Linked DNA regions of Homo sapiens: all the other regions are linked to region 2. The links are contacts of gene promoters, found by promoter capture Hi-C in human tissues and cell types (Jung and others, 2019). All regions are on one chromosome and are shown on one strand. The core of a region is centred on a gene start or on the middle of the fragment in contact, and the rest is flanking DNA. Distances in the headings are between cores, read along the strand shown.

Region 1 (2,700 bases), core at 59-2,558, 280 kb after region 2:
AGAGAGGCCACAGAGCAGGCACATTGCCTACTGTACACCTTGAAAACTCCAAGGAACCGACGCTGGGAGGCAAGGATAGGGGAGGGCTGAGAACGCCTGAGGAAAGGGGACATGGAGACAGGATTGGCCTGTAGACTCAGGGGAGCAGGCACCGGTGTGATAAGACTCTGCTCCCTCTGGAGACTTGCAGGAGGAACCAGGTGACCAAGAAACTGGCTCCTGTAGGAGGCTTGAGCCTGGGTCTAGGTTGGAGACAGAGGCCGAGAAGGCGGCCAGGGCATAGAGGCATCCACAGGGGCCCTTCTGTGGGCTCTGCCCAAGCGGGAGCTTTGCTGCTCTAGCGACACCTCTTTCCTCCCGCTTGGTTTCCCTCTGGCCTCAGTCCTGGCCCAACCCAAGCAGAGTGCCTCAGCTCTGCCTCAGAGCCCCTCCTCCCTCAGGGCGAAGTTGATTACTTCACCCAGTCTCCAGGTTACACTCGGCCTCGGAAATTTGATGGTTTTCAACCCTTGGAATTAGTGGAACTGAAATTCATCTCGGAGCCGAGTTCAATTCTCCACAGGCTCAGTAATGCCAGTCTGAGACACCCAGCTTCTTTCTTCCCCAGGCTGGCCCTGGCTTGGGGGCAGGGGGTGGTTCAGGGAGACATGCCCCAGGGAGCTGGCTCCTGGGAGCCCCCTGGCTCCACCTCTGCCTAATCCTTCCTGACCCCACAGTGTGACCGCTCCATCTCTTACCAGGTCCTCAGGTCCTTCTCTTCCTTGGGCTTCCTCAGCCAGATCTCTGAGGCAGGGCCACCCTCTGGTGTCAGCCCCACTGGCCCAGGGGCTGAGAGTAAGGGGTCCCATAGGGGTGCAGAGCTCCTGGGCCCGGAACCAGATGCCCACCTCTTTGCCCTGCACTGTTCCTGTGCCTCTGCTGGCCTGGCGCTAACGCCCCGAGTGTCCATGTGTTCTCCAGATGTGTCTGAGGGCTCAGTCCCCAATGGAGATTCCCAGAGTGGTGTGGACAGTTTGCGGAAGCACTTGCGAGCTGACACCTTCACCCAGCAGCAGCTGGAAGCTTTGGATCGGGTCTTTGAGCGTCCTTCCTACCCTGACGTCTTCCAGGCATCAGAGCACATCAAATCAGAACAGGTGAGGAGGGAGCTTTCTGCTTGCAGAAGTAGAAAGGAGCCGGCAGAGCAAGGCCTCTCAAAAACTTGTTCACTAAACACCACATGCATAGCCAGCATTGTATGTGTTACACACGTGTGTTCTGTGTGTGTGCAGTGTGAACAGGCTCACATGAGACAGTATGGTATCGTTAAGACAAATCATTATGGTCTGTATATGGTAATTAGAAATGAGTTCTGGGTGCAAGAGTATGGCCTTGGGTAAATCATCTCTGTTCAGAGCCTCGGTTTCCCCATCTATAGAATGAAGGGCTTGGATGTAGGGTTTGTCAAGTCCCTTCTAGCTCCGCTTTTCTGTGGTTCTTGCATGGAGTACTCAGGAACATCCTCTTGCTGTGTCCCTTGCCCACACCCCCTCAGGGTCCTACAGAAAGTCTACGCTAGACTGGGGAGCTCTCCTTGCCCAGTGTCAGGAGAGCCTGCCTGTGCCTGCCTCCTGCTCCCCAAGCCAGCAATTCAATGGAACCCTAGGTAGGCTGGCAGCTTCCCACTTACACCCAACACTTTCTGCAGACACTGAGCAGCCCAGGACACATAGCATGGGGCACAGCATGTAACACACCAGCAAAACGCACAACGCAGAAACCATCTCCGAACTTTTCTATGTGCTGGTGTGCATGTGCTCACACTCCACCATCCACCTGCTCCCCTCACCCACAGCCCATGGTACTGTGCTCACACACCACTGTCCACCTGCTCCCCCACCCACAGCCCACGGTACTGTGCTCACACACCACCGCCCACCTGCTCCCTCACCCACAGCCCACGGTACTGTGCTCACACACCACCGCCCACCTGTTCCCTCACCCACAGCCCACGGTACTGTGCTCACACACCACTGTCCACCTGCTCCCCCGACCACAGCCCACGGTACTGTGCTCACACACCACCGCCCACCTGCTCCCTCACCCACAGCCCACGGTACTCACAGCTAGCCCCGGCAGCCGCATGGAGCCAGTGGGTGTGTGCTGCCCCCAGATCACCAGCTCAGCATACCCCTAGCATATGCCTCCACCCACATACGCTGGGTGGAGCCCCCAGCACACCCGCTCCCACACAGGGGCACACTCCCATCCCTGCTACACATGCAGCCCAGGCCAGGCCCACAGTCACAGCACAAGACAGCATTGCTGTGCTTGCATGCATGCACACACGCACCCACACATGCACGTCAGTGCAGCCCCACAGCGTTGAACGCTGTAGTTCCACTCTTAAGACTCCAACAGCTCCCAGCCACTCGCCTTTCTCCCCGCCCGTCCTTTTATCCCATAAGCTGTTTGTCTTCATAAAACAAAAATCAAAAGTCTTTTTAAGGTGCCCTGAGCCATAAACCAACAAAGGAGGAGCTGGCCGAGGCGGGCGGCTCAGTGCACCCTCCCTGAGTCCCCGCCTGTATTACAATGAATAACCTTTATTTACTTTCATTAGACTATTAAACACCAGCACAGTCATTTTTCCCCCTGAAACTCGGAGCAGGGCCCATAAAGCAAATCCGAAGCCTAATTGAGTTCATTTTAATTTCTCTC
Region 2 (2,700 bases), core at 16-2,515:
TCCAGGTTCATCTGACACTGGCTTCGAACAAGGCTGCTCTTGTCCACAACATAAGAAAAAACAGGAAATGATGACAACTAGACATATGCTACAGAAAATGAGTGTATAACAAGAAGAATAGAAGTTGCTGAAACCAAGATTGAAAGAGTGACATTAGGACAGGAAATAAAGGCGATGATAATCACTTCAGATAATTAACCATTGGGATGTTATGTGGGTATGGATACGGAAGAGTGTGGAAGGGATAGGATAACATCAACTGGAGTACGTAAGGGGGCTGGCTGTTTAATCTGCTTAATAGTTGCTACGATTTCCACAGCACTAACAGAAAAACATTTTTTTTAAAGAGACATACACACAAATATAGAGTACTCCGTTTACAAATAAGATTCTCATGACAGGAGTCCAGCTCCAGCCTGGTCACATGCCTGGATGACAGCACCTGAGCGCAGCAGATGCTCAATCTAAATGAAACTCGACGCTCTGGATAGAGCCAAGGAAGGCTCCTGCTATTCGGGGGTCCTCGAGGGAGCCATTAAAACCTCGGCTTCCTCATTTGAGGAAACAGCCTGAGCCAAGGAGAAAATTGAAGTCCTCTCAGCTGCAGCTGCTCACCCACCCCCCTCCCACCTCCCTCCACAGAGAAAAGCACCCACTCCATTGACTCTGAGGGGTCACGAGAAGGTTCGGGAAAAAGGGTCACAGTCAAGCCACCCAACCCAGCCGGCCTTCTCCCATCACTACTTGGGTGCGAGCATACCCTCTCTGTCTCACCCCATGCCATCATCCGGGTAAGGTTCGTAGTCTTCCACACGCATATTATACTTCTTGGCGGCGGCGGCCCGTTCTTCTGGGGTCCTAGGATAGGGCCCCGGGAACATGTCCTTGGTCATGTGGGAGGCTAGAACGCAGAAGAGAACAGGTCAGAAGCGAGCCCGCTCTCCAGCCGCTCCGAAGGCTTCAAGTCGCAGGGGCTGCAGAGGTCCGAGCCCGGGACTTCGCAGGATCAGTGCGATCCTCCACCCCATTTTCTGGATATATCAACGCCACCTCCACTCCCTACCCGGAGGCTGCCGCCGCGGCATCTACGATCCCCCCTCCCGATACACCAAATTTCAGGTACCCCCTTCCCACACTGAGGTCTCGCCCGTTCTCGCGGACCTGTCCGTGCGCCCAGCGGCATCACGTTCCGGGATGCCCTTTGCAGCCACTGGACTCCCAAGACCCCGGCCCTGGCCACCGCCATCTTCACCTTCTTCACGTTTCCCTTCTGCACATGCGCAAAGGCCTGTCACGGCGGCTGAGCCGGGCCAAACGTGACGGAGGAAGCCGGGAGTGAAGAAAAGCCGAAGGGTTCAACAGGGGCGGGGTTTAAATACGCAGTTGGGAAGCCAAGGGTTGGATAGAGGCTGGGAAGGATAAGCGGGAAGAAGGGAAAACCAGGCAGGTCTCTGACATTTCAGAATGTTGTGTCCTTTTTCTCCCTGAGCTGACTTAGACCCATCCAGGGATGATGGGAACTCGGAACCTGAGCAACTCAGGTAGACAGCTTAACCACCTCCCCCAGGAGCTGTACTAGTGAAATGAGCCTGTCTTACTCTCTTCTCTGGCTGCTTGCTTTCCTCTCCTTCACGGGCACTTCCTTCCATCCCCAAACATGATCATTCTTCAAATTCACCTGTTGGTCTTGCTTGTTGTTCTGTTCTCCAAATGGGTTGATCTTCACTTAGACGCCAGTGCAACACACAATTCGGCCCTGAATTGGCTCCTTAGTTTCAGTCCGTGTTTCCATCTGCATGTCTCAGTCACCTCAACCCAACAAATGTAAAATTAAACTTATCACCAGAGGCAGCTCTCCAGAGACAGCTTAAAGCCTCAGAGTTGGTAGGACTTGGATAAAACAAATTACAAACCGGCCCATAATGAACAAACTAACTCAACAGAAGAATTGGAGACATTATTATGTTTGCATATGAATGTTTTCACTTGGGATTTGAATAACTTACACATTATAAATATGCACGTATTTCCAGTGACTTTTCAGGTGACCACTGTTTTGGAGCAGAACCTATTATTATAAACATTCTCAAGTATATATCAGAGCAATAAAAATGCATATAAGCTGGGAGCTGTGGCTCACACCTGTAATCCCAACACTTTGGGAGGCCTAGGTTGGAGAATGGCTGGAGACCAGGAGTTTGAGACCAGCCTGGGTGACATAGTGAGACTTCGTCTCTTTTTTTTTAAGTTATAAAAAGTAAACAAATATGGATATATACTATTTAATATATAAATTTTGGGAAGGACTACACAGCAACTTGCTGTCTTGTAAATGACATCACTAGTTGATGTTCAGAATAATTGCACAACATCTGCATTCAACCAATAGCAAACCCTGATCCAATTTAGGTCAAGAAACAGAGTTGATCTAATTTATTTATTTTTATTAAGATATTATTCACATACCATAAATTCACCCTTTTAGGCCGGGTGCGGTGGCTCACGCCTGTAATCCCAGCACTTTGGGAGGCTGAGGTGGGAAGATTACTTGAGGTTAGGAGTTCAAGACCAGCCTGGCCAACACAGCAAAAACCCATCTCTACTAAAAATACAAAAATAGCTGGGCATGGTGGTGTACACTTGTAATCCCAGCTACTCAGGAGGCTGAGGCAAGAGAATCACTTGAACACAGGAGATGGA
Region 3 (2,700 bases), core at 18-2,517, 440 kb after region 2:
TGGGCCCTGCTGTCTAGCAGTCTGCAGTCACACACAGCCATCCAAACTACGAGATTGTATATGATTCAGTGCCAAACTGTGAGCTTTGGGGAATCCAGAAAGAAGGATGAAGCCTTTCCCAAGTTTCCTTTAGTTAAATGTGCCACTTGAATCCTGTTCTGACTCCTAGGCACATGCAAGAGTCAATCACATATGTTCCTGTGGCCTTTATCATTTTGGTCCATCTCTTGAGCCCACATGAATACTGTCATGGATGGAGGAGGAAGGACCAGGCTGGGTCAGGGCCTGAATGCAGGTTTTGTTTGGACTATAGGGGCTAAGTTCACTTTAATAGGCTGTGACCTATTAAAGGAGGCAGGAACCAAGTTTGCACAGAAGGACCATCCTAGTTGAGTTAAAGGAGTTGGGGAGTTGATTGTGAGGGGTTTCCTAGATTGCTGCTGGGTAAGGTGATTGAATCTGGGAAGGATAGGGTACTTGATTGCCTAGAAGGGTGCACTCTAAGTTCTGGATAAGAATGGTGCCCAAGATGAGCTGGAGGGGAAGGCAAGTGTTTGAATGACCCAGTCCCTGAGGTGAGCCTAGGTTAGGGTTAAGATTTGGTGAGTGAACAGGTGCAAACGCTTGTGGCTTATTTATCCAGAAAAAGCATTTTCTGTGTGCCTTTCAGGTCAGGCTGTTACTTTATCCCCTTCAGGCCTGACCCCATCTCCCCCACGCATAGCTCAAGCTGAACAGCCCCTGAAGCTGGGAATCAAGCCCCTACCTTGTGTTCAGAGCTTCCCTAACGTCCAGTCGCCACCTAGGGTAGCCTTCCCTCCACACCCTAGGCCGAGAGCAGAAGCGGGTGGCAGGAGCACAGGGAGTGAGGTCCAGGTTAGAGGACAGGCCAGAAGGCCCTCCGAGAGGGTCCCCCAACCCCGCAACGCCAGGACAGGTTTGCACGTCCCCAGCAGTAGGCAAGTCAGGGGGGTCCTAGGGTTACAGCGGAGGAGAGGACGGGCTATAAGCATGTGGAGGGTGCACGGGGTGGCGAGGCCACCACCAGGGGGCGATTTCAGGGCCGCAGCGCCTAGAGGTGGGGGGTCGCCCGATGGCCGAAGGCTGTGTGTGAGCCTCGCCCTCAAACCGCCTCTATTGTGCTAGAGTAGGGGGCGCAAAGAAGAGAGTGGCGACCTTCCCCTCACCCCACCCAGTCGGCCCCGCCTTTCAGGACCCCGCCCCACCCCCGGCTCCGCCTCCACCACCCCCCCCCCGCCCCGCCTCCAGCCGCGGCCCCTTCCTCTCGCAGCTGGTGCTGTGGGGCCGCGGAGCCGCGCGTCGCTGTCTCTATGGCCCCGGATCCGAGCGCAAAGGTGAGCAAGGCGAGGAGTGCGGGCGGCGCCCTGGCGTGAGCCTGGGGCTGCGGGCCGGGGGTCGGGCAAGGCCTCCCCCACGTCCATTCTACCCTCCAAGCTGGGCCAGGCCTTTCTCACCACCAAGTCCCCCGGTCCTGCATGACGGCTCTAGAGGGGCGCGGGCCAGGCCTCGGGCTGCGCGGGGTGCAAACCGGCCACCACGGAGTCGGGGACCAGCGCGGGGAGGGGGCCGCGTGGCGAACAGTGTTCCCCAGGATCTGGGTCACGTCTCCCGGCGTCCGGCGGGATCGAAGGAGAGCTTGTCCTCGAGCTGCAGCAGTAGAGACTGAGGTTAGACCTGACGAAGGGAGAGGACCGCGGACTGTCCAGGATGTTGGAGGGAGGGGGTCCCGGGGGAGGGGCTCTCTCAAGCCAGGAGAGACCGCCATCCTACTAGGCAGAGGGAAATACCGCCTACACTAGGCAGGTGGACATCTGGGATGAAGGTCGAGAGCCTGCTGATCCTCCATTGATCCTGTTTGAAGGGTCTCTCCTCCCCAGTTCCCTCCACCCCAAGATCTAATAGAGGAAAGGTGATCAGAGTTCAGGGGGCTGGCCCTGGGGAAGAACCCGAACTGTGGAACTTGGGGTGGAGTGTGGGGCGTGGACTGGAGACCTTAAACCCGTACTTCGCCACTGAAGGGAGGGGTGATATGCTCCGCCCCGCCCACTTAGCCCCGCCCCCTCCCACAGGTTAAGTGGGGGCTGAGAGCTCCAGCCCGTCTCCCACCTTTAGAACCGCAATATACATAGGGGTGGAGGAGTACTAAATTATGCGTTCCATTCCATCTTTGCTGAAGCTAGGGGCCTCCTCCTGCCTGAGTTACTTTCCCATTCCCTCCCTTGTAGAGCGGCCTTGACTCATGCACCCATCCCATCTGCCCATCCAAGGTCAGAAGCCTCCCCCATCACCACACACACACACACACACAACCCCCTCACCACCCCCACACACAAACACACACTTGAAATTGGGCCTTAGAATTGGGACTTTCAGGAACAGAGGCAGGGTTCTGCTCTGCATCTCACCCCAGTGGACACTGGCAGCCTCCAAGCCTATGGCAAAAACTGGACCCCTGTATGCATGTGTGCTTGTCTCTGCATGGATGTAGTTGTGTGTTCAAGAACTGCGTGTGAGCACACATGTACTTGACCCTTCTGTGAACATGATTGCCTGGCCCACTATATCAATGGGTTTGTGTGCATGTCCCTACACATACATGTGTATGTATAGGACCCTCCTGTTGAATAGGTGCACAGTCCTTGACACAAACCCACATGTGTGGGTTTATCTCTCCTCAAT
Region 4 (2,700 bases), core at 184-2,683, 290 kb after region 2:
TACTAGAAATGCAAAAACCTGAGCTGTAGCTCTGTATAGCTAGGGAAGGATAAATCACTCAGACGTGTCAAGGTAGGGATGAGGAAACTCATACAGCTCTGGAATGCAGGGAGGTGAGGCCATCTTCAAAGGGAGAGTAGCAAAGAGAGAGAGAGATGCTTTGGAATAGCCATTGGGAGAATAATGACTATGGCCCAGCTGATGAAAAGAAAGTGAACGGGCCCAGGTATGCATAGTTCTGTTACTTTCTCCAGCCATGCCTTGCCTTCCCAAGGATAGACAGAGGCATTAGAGTAATAGAGTGGCATTGGCTAGTGAGGAGAATAAGGGGAATCTGGAGGGGTTAAGGGGGTTCCAGGAGGTCCAGGAGAGGATAAAGAGATTATGGCAGAGGGGAGAAAGCAAATTATTATTAGAGATCAGAGCATGCTAAATTGCAAAGGGAGGTGGTGGCCCCTTCATAGCCATGGAGGATGCAGGCAAGGTAGGGAGCCCAGTCATGTGCAGCTGTGTCCCAGAGGACATGTCGGTGGACCAGGGGTAGCACCCTCATCTTGACTCGCTTTGTCTCCCACCCTCCAGGCTTTAGCTGATAGAGCCCTCCAGGGACAGAAGTCCAGCAGCTGGTGGGGGAGCAGATTTTGCTCATTGGAACTTTATCTGGTCCACTTGCACTTTTGGCTCAAAGCTCCTGATTCACTTCAGGGTGGTTTTCTATCATGTAAATGCCATAAACACTAACAGCAAAATAGCCCACTGGCTGCCCCCCTGCTCTCCACACCTGCCAGGACCAGGACCTGCAGCTCCACTTGGAGAGGACAAGGAATAGCCATCAGTCCCTGTAGGGGTGATGGTGGGGTGTCCTCCAAGCCTGAAGGAAAGATGGGGTGTTAGGGAGAGGAAAGATAAGCAAGATGATAGAGGTCCATTTGGCTGCTGGAGAGACCACAGCTGAATATCTTGCTGAGAAGGAGGAGTAAAACCAGGTCATCTCCCTCCCATCTCCATCTGGGTTTGGAATGCACAGAGACACAGGCAAAGGCAGATACACACACACACACACACACACACACACACACACACACACACAAATACACAGAGACACAAAGAGCTACACAAAACAGAGATGCGTACACACAGCTGATCATAGACATTTAGCTTAGACACATGCAAAGGCACACTCAGATGGCGCATTCAGGTGCACAGTGGCACACATACCCCTGCACGTCTGCACAGAGCTCTTTCCTCTCCAAGAGTTTCCTCTCCGTGCAGTACCCTGGTGTGAGTAGAGGCAGGCCCCTTTCTTCCAGGCCTCACCCCTTCCCCTTTGTGTTTTTCCAGGTCGTGACATGGCGAGCACCACTCTGCCTGGTTACCCCCCTCACGTGCCCCCCACTGGCCAGGGAAGCTACCCCACCTCCACCCTGGCAGGAATGGTGCCTGGTAGGTGACAATGCTGCAGCTGCCTAATCTAGGTGGGGGGAACTAAATTGTGGGTGAGCTGCTGAATGGTCTGTAGTCTGAGGCTGGGGTGGGGGGAGACACAACGTCCCCTCCCTGCAAACCACTGCTATTCTGTCCCTCTCTCTCCTTAGAGGCTGCAGTTGGTCCCTCATCCTCCCTCATGAGCAAGCCGGGGAGGAAGCTTGCAGAAGTGCCCCCTTGTGTGCAACCCACTGTATGTCATGGCCCCTCCACAGCGCCCACCCACCCAAGTCTGTGCCCGAGGAGCACTCAGCCTCAGCTCCACCCTCAGTGCCCAGCCCACCCCAGCCAGCTGACACTGCTTGGAAGAGCCTGCCCTGGTTTCCATGGAAACTTGGAGCCAAGAACCATTTCCAGGGGCATGTCAGTCACTCAGACAAAGCCACCCTGGTCCACACCAAGACACAAGGGAAGACCAATGTTGAGAACCAACCCCAACCCCAACCCAGAGACAGTAGGGAGCTAGTCCCTAAGAGGAATGGAGGTCAGGCTGCGGCGGGAAGCAGGGAGAGTCGCTGCAGTGAGACAGGCTAGAACACCCCTATACCTCTTCAGAGGCACCCAGCCTTCCATTGCTTCCCTGGGGCTCTGACCCATCCCTAATCAGAGGAGTTGGGTTTGGGTTGTTTGAATCAGAGAGACAGAGGCTGTATTTAAGGTCTGGTGACTGCAGCTGGAGGTTGTACTATACCTAACCCCTAACCCCAGATTGGGAGCAGGGTCTTGAAGCCAAAGAGAGTTGAAGTTCCTATGTGCACAAACACCAAAACACTCTTGTCTTAAGGAGGGTTAGACTCACTCAGCCAGCAACTCACTCCCTCTGGCCGCCCTCTATGTGGCCTTTCCCTGAAGTTCAACTCTCATTGGTATGGGGAATGGGGAGGATAGAAGAGAGTGGTTGGCCCCATCCATCCAGGGACATTTAGGTATAACCCTGGGTAAGCAGAGCTTGGGGTAGGGGCAGCGGCAAAGAGGGAGATTGCTGCTGGGTCTTATGGACTAGGGGCTGAAGGGAGTTAGAGGTGTGGGTAAAGGGATTCCTGCCCAGATTTAGGGGAAGGAAAGTAGAAGCCTTGTTGGGAGGCAAGGAGATTTTAGGGAGAAACTCCCAGCAGTGAGCAGGTGGGGGCTGGAGGAGGTTTTAAAGAGGTGGGGTGAGGGAAGAGTGGGGAGGTGGGGGCAGGGAGTCTGCAGGGAGGTGGGGAAGAGGGGAGC

Evidence for each region. Contacts are between HindIII fragments. The study calls those that stand out against the background at their distance.
Region 1: a contact is called between a fragment that was not itself captured here and the fragment with the promoter of NDUFB8 in region 2, in 2 of the 25 tissues and cell types used here (IMR-90 fibroblasts and bladder).
Region 3: a contact is called between the fragment with the promoter of SEMA4G here and the fragment with the promoter of NDUFB8 in region 2, in 1 of the 25 tissues and cell types used here (dorsolateral prefrontal cortex).
Region 4: a fragment that was not itself captured here is called in contact with the fragment with the promoter of NDUFB8 in region 2 in 1 of the 25 tissues and cell types used here (lymphoblastoid cells).

Annotation. Positions count from the first base shown.
Region 1 is chr10:100,805,470-100,808,169 of GRCh38, forward strand. PAX2 (paired box 2) reads left to right here. Exons shown (of 10, transcript NM_000278.5): 6 at 961-1,136. Among named protein-coding and RNA genes, the nearest start is that of PAX2, 61 kb to the left of the region's middle. RefSeq lists an enhancer at 2,037-2,537. The HindIII fragment of the contact is 4,632 bases long and covers 1-2,700 here.
Region 2 is chr10:100,528,606-100,531,305 of GRCh38, forward strand. NDUFB8 (NADH:ubiquinone oxidoreductase subunit B8) reads right to left here and starts at 1,266. Exons shown (of 5, transcript NM_005004.4): 1 at 1,162-1,266; 2 at 775-901. The coding sequence starts at 1,246. RefSeq lists enhancers at 1-130, 973-1,555, 1,689-1,738. The HindIII fragment of the contact is 7,939 bases long and covers 1-2,700 here.
Region 3 is chr10:100,968,237-100,970,936 of GRCh38, forward strand. SEMA4G (semaphorin 4G) reads left to right here and starts at 1,268. Exons shown (of 15, transcript NM_017893.4): 1 at 1,268-1,355. RefSeq lists a silencer at 1,225-1,284. The HindIII fragment of the contact is 9,481 bases long and covers 1-2,700 here.
Region 4 is chr10:100,823,307-100,826,006 of GRCh38, forward strand. It overlaps PAX2 (paired box 2), which reads left to right. Exons shown (of 10, transcript NM_000278.5): 8 at 1,342-1,443. Among named protein-coding and RNA genes, the nearest start is that of PAX2, 79 kb to the left of the region's middle. The HindIII fragment of the contact is 3,113 bases long and covers 1-2,700 here.